Linked DNA regions of Homo sapiens: region 2 is linked to region 1. The links are contacts of gene promoters, found by promoter capture Hi-C in human tissues and cell types (Jung and others, 2019). All regions are on one chromosome and are shown on one strand. The core of a region is centred on a gene start or on the middle of the fragment in contact, and the rest is flanking DNA. Distances in the headings are between cores, read along the strand shown. Region 1 holds the start of HABP2 (hyaluronan binding protein 2). Region 2 overlaps VTI1A (vesicle transport through interaction with t-SNAREs 1A).

Region 1 (2,609 bases), core at 56-2,555:
CTCTATGGAGTGAAATGGGGAACAAAATGCAAAGGTACTTAATAAGACAGAGAGGTTATGACTGTTATTTTAGTTCTTATCCTCTGCCCACTTTCTACCACCCCTCCCGAACAAGGCGGAGCATTCTCTGATTTTTATGGAGAAGTTGTGTTCATTCTTGACATTTTAAGGGAGTAGAGCTCACATTTATTTGCAAGCCACATACATGACCTCGTTTACTTGTGGCCCTCCCCAAATCTATGAGAGGTTAGCACTTGATTTGCAGAAGACAACACTGAGGCTCAGAGAGATTATGTTCCTTGCCCAACATTCCACAGCTAGAATGTGGCAAAGCTGAGATTCGAACCCTGGCTCCAAAGCCCACATTCATGCCTCAGACCACAACCAGCACGGAACTCCAAGGAGACTCTATTTCTGTGCAAGGTCCTCTTTCCATGCCCACAGAGATCCATCTGACACTCTTGGACCATGGCACACAGAAGGAACTAACATCTTGACAAGTCATCTGCTCCGGAAGGTCCTGAGTCCCCCGTTCAAGACTCTCTGATGGGACTTCCCTTCCCTGCGCACTGCAACCTCCCTTGGGCCCCTGCTCACCTTCTCTGCCTCATCTGCTGCTGTCACAGGGAAAAGGAGACAAAGTACTAAACACAAAGCTTCTCCCCAAATCCAAACTATTTATGCAGACCCACTGCCAGGATCTTTTGCAGTCAGCAGGCTTCCCCTCTAAGGCCATAGCACATTGCTTCTTACCCTAGTGTCAGCCACAAATCGCTGGAAAACTGTGTGTGTCAGCACCAATAGATAGGTATATTTTCCTGGGGAGAGAGTTTATAGCTTTCCATGGCTTCTCAAAGGGGTCTATGAGATCCATGACAGATTACAATCCATGCCCTGGGGCACATTTTCTTGCCCCAGTCTCCTTTGCTGGAATGCATTCATGGAGGCTCCGCTCCAAGATGGCTCAAGTCAGACACCTGTTCCCATGGGAGTGGCTGCTCAAAAGAAACCAAGCCACAGGCCTGCATTGGTTCTTGTAGTTAGAACATCTCCAACTTGGCAACTCCAGCCTTTCACTCTAAAGTTTCTCATCACTCCCAGCCTAGCTTGGTCCTCCTAGTAAACTTCGGAGTCTCTCAACTACAAATATTAGAAAAGAACACTTACCCCACAGGCTGTCTTTCCCACCAGAGCCATTAACAGCAGAACATGGAGATCAGACATCCTGGCAAACATCTTTGCAGTTTAAGGACTTGTGTTTTCCTCTCAATAAAATTTCTTTTGTTGTCTATGCCTTTAGGGGGGAAAAATGTCAGTCTCCAAGGATTCAGGAACAAATGAAGAGGATGCAAATTATTAACTAGGCATCAAATACTGTTTAATGTTTAATGTTTTGCAAACTAACTATCTTGATTAAACAAATGGCAACTTTGGGGCTGGGCTGAGTCATGAAGTGGTTTCTCTTCTGGGGAGAAACTCTCCAAAGAAAGTAGCTGACATAGCCCCCTGGCTCCACGGTGCACATGACAGCTGCTGGGTGTTCCGAGCAGGAAGCCTGACAGCGTGACTAGCATCCCAGCCTCAGGATAAAAGATCAGGTGAAGCCTGTGCCACAGGCCTCTGCCAGTGCTGATTTGTACAGAATGTTAATAGACTTCTGGTTCATCAAATCTCAAACAGAATTAAGGCATGGATGGGCTCCTAATAACATCACACTTTATATTCATGAGACATAAATTAAAGGATGCAAAACTGCTATTGACAAACATTGATTCTGGGCCCTTTGAAGTGTTGCCCACAGTTGCTTGTTGGCTTCAAAAGTTTTGTTTTAAACCTCATTAGGTAAGACTTTTACTTTTTAATTATTTTTTCCCCTTTTGCTGGAGTCTTTCTTTGATCAAGCGGAGGAAAAAAAACATGGTGTTCATATTTCAGGACAATTGTTTCCTATGTTCCTTATTTAGCTATGCTGGTTGCAGGTAGAGTTCTGTCAAGCAGCAATTACCTATTAAGTGTGGGTTCTTGTGGACACAATTGATCTCTTTAATAGGCATGATCTTAATCTCCTGTAAACAACTGACTGCCCACAGAAATCTATGCCTGGGTTCCAGGAATCCTCCTGACTTGAGTCATAAATCCAGGTTTTGAAATGCTGCTGCCAGCGGAGGCATGTGCTCACCTGTGCCCCCCTGCCCAGCCCTGCCCCTACCTGCCATCCCTGTTTGGCACGTGGACTGCATCAGTGGCTGCATCTACTTCTGAAAGCCAAGTTGCTAGCCGGGGAGGGCCCCACAGATCCCAGCCCAAAAGAATGCCCCAGTCACCAGATGAGCCTTGAAGGACTAGCCAAGTCCTGGTCCTGCCATTTTACCTCCTAAATGACTTCCACATTATTTTCTTTTATCCACATATTTTTGTCTCCATCCTATTTTAGGCAGCCATCAACTCCCCCCACCCCGCCTCCTATACCATCAACATCCACCTGATCACCATAATACAAGCCCATGTTAGTAGTCCCTTTTTCTTTTTATTATTATTATTATTATTATTTTGAGACAGAGTCTCACTCTGTCATCCAGGCTGAAGTGCAGTGGCGTGATCTTGGCTCA
Region 2 (2,609 bases), core at 51-2,550, 840 kb after region 1:
GGTGCACGCTTGTAATCCCAGCTACTTGGGAGGCCGAGGCAGGAGAATCATTTGAACCCAGGAGGCAGAGGTTGCAGCGAGCTGAGAGCATGCCAATGCACTCCAGCCTGGGCGACAGAGCAAGACTCCATCTCGGAGAAAAAAAAAAAAAGACATTAACTGGAGGACAACAAATGGATTCAAATCAGAGGTTTAAAAATCCTCATGGGCCAATATTTACCAAGCACCTTCCATGTGAATGCAACTGTGCTGAGTGCTTTCAGATTCAAATATGAGAGCTGTATTCCTTGTTCTCCAGGAGTTAACCCTATAGTAGAGGGAATGAGATAGGTACTGAAACAGCTGAAACTTAAGGCATACTAGATCTGTCCAACAAGAGCAGTACAATCAAAGCAACACAGAGCACTTTGGGAGGCCGAGGCAGGTGGATTGCTTGAGCTCAGGAGTTCGAGACCAGCCTGGGCAACATGGTGAAACTCTGTCTCTACTAAAATACAAAAAATTAGCCAGGCTTGGTGGTGCCTGCCTATAGTCCCACCTACCTGGGAGGCCGAGGCACAAGAATTGCTTGAACCCAGGAGGCAGAGGTCGCAGTGAGCCAAGACTGCGCCACTGCATTCCAGCCTGGGCAACAGAGCAAAACTATCTCAAAAAAAAAAAAAAAAAAAAAAAAAAAAGCCACATAGAGTGCCTCTTGTTGGGGAGATCTGAAAAATGTGATCTCTCCTTTCTTTGAGGATGCAGCATGAAGACAGGGAACTGAAAGATGGGCAGGATTTTTATGGGGAAGAGAAGGTAAATGTCCAGGCAGGAGGAATGGCATGAGCAAGATTAAGAGCAAGAGGCAAGTCTGGTAGGCAGGGAGCAGTTCCGGCTGGCTGAGGTGCAGGTCAAGCGAGGGGAGGGTGGCTGGGAAGGAAGGTAGAGGCTGCATTGCAGAGAAGGCTGAGGGCCAGCAGAGGCCTAGGCCAGCCCACAGCACCAGGGGGGCAGTTCTGTCTGAAGACAGACACTCTTAGGGAACTAGAGGTCAAAAATCTTCATTGTATACTCTTTATCTGTGAAAATACAGGGCTCCAACTTTCTGTCCCTTTTCTGAGGTGTTTGTCAGCAAAGCAACCAGACACTCTTAAAGAAGGGACACAAAAAAGGGAGCCAATTCCTGGGGAGAAATGGTGACTGAAATGAAATGAAGGCCGGGACTAATCAGGGAGGAGGATGGTGAGTGAGATGAAGGAGAATATATGCCAGAGGAAGGCGGTCTAATCAGGAACAGGATGGAGGTGAGGAAGGGGACACGTACCCCTCCCGGGATAATCCCTAAGAAAATTGACAATAGACGCTGGAGGGCCAGCAAGTCCATAGATTCAGAAACTACCAGCAACCGCGGGGTGGCATAAACATGCCAGCTATGGGTTTCCACCCAGAAACCAAGTACTGCTCTTTGCGCTTTTAGGAGACAGACTGTGTAACTACGAAACATGTTTTTAGGAGACTATTTACTGTCAAGAAGAAATGTTCACGGCAAACGGCGAAGTGGGAAAGGCTACACAAAATGGATGCATGTACAACATAATTCCATGTTTATAGAAATATGAGCAGCATTTATTGGTGTATTTGATCATCACGAGCTAGACTGCTGAATGGTGAAATATTTGAAATATTCCATGCCATCCAAAAGTTCTTCAGTTCTTACTTAGAATAGCTGGTGACTCGCTTCTGTCAAAGATACTGCTTAATGCTAATTAGTATGCAGAACACATTCCTTTACAAATATCTCTAATAAGTAGAATAACTAAAAGAATCTTGTCAAATATGTAGCTGGCACAGTATAAAACATTAGAGATGAGTGTTTTCCTTTTTACCACTTTTAGGAAACAGTCTTCTATGTAAGAAATACATGGGACCTTATTTGAAAAAAACTGAAGTATTAACACAAATATTCCCAAGCTTATATTAGCTCTTGTAATCAATGTAACTTCTTTACACAGACCTGTAACCCTGTTTATATAAATATGCCCATGTATAAACAATGCATACTGCACATTAGTGCCTGGTGGAGGCCAAGTCTTTTTCAAAATGCAAACATTTCAGAATTATTTTGTATTTCAACAAACCTACAGTAATATACATGCTGTATACACATACCACACAATTATTCTATTTTGCATGTGAAATTACATACTTTACACACCTGGCTAGCACAGTGGAAGGACAGGCCCACTGATACCAGTGAGAAGCAATGAGTCCTTGTGTTTAGCTTCTTCAATGTTATCAGGATAGAACTGTCTAACAGAAATGAACCTGCTTTCTTTGGCGGTAAAGAATGTTATCAACCTTTTACCTAAATAAACTTCACCAGGAACAGGGGTGAAAAAATTGGCTAGATGTTTAATAAAGTGCAACCAGGACTGCAGCTGCTAATTTTGTTTGATGTTTTACAGCTGAGGGTAGCAAAAAAACTAAAAGGCAATTACATGAACCAAACAGACTTTTATAGCTCATAGTCAATCTCAAATAAATAATTCTGGCAGAGTCTAATACTCTTTATGTTAAAATACATCATCTTCCAATTTAGGACAATAACTTTAAAATTTTTATGCAAAGTA

Evidence for each region. The method cuts DNA at HindIII sites, captures the fragments that hold promoters and counts their contacts. A contact is called where the count stands out against the background at its distance.
Region 2: a contact is called between a fragment that was not itself captured here and the fragment with the promoter of HABP2 in region 1, in 1 of the 25 tissues and cell types used here (dorsolateral prefrontal cortex).

The regions. Positions count from the first base shown.
Region 1 is chr10:113,551,749-113,554,357 of GRCh38, reverse strand. It overlaps HABP2 (hyaluronan binding protein 2), which reads right to left and starts at 1,305. Exons shown (of 13, transcript NM_004132.5): 1 at 1,168-1,305. The coding sequence starts at 1,236. The HindIII fragment of the contact is 9,394 bases long and covers 1-2,609 here.
Region 2 is chr10:112,707,751-112,710,359 of GRCh38, reverse strand. All of the region lies in intron 7 of VTI1A (vesicle transport through interaction with t-SNAREs 1A), which reads right to left. Among named protein-coding and RNA genes, the nearest start is that of MIR4295, 75 kb to the right of the region's middle. RefSeq lists a silencer at 196-490. The HindIII fragment of the contact is 5,775 bases long and covers 1-2,609 here.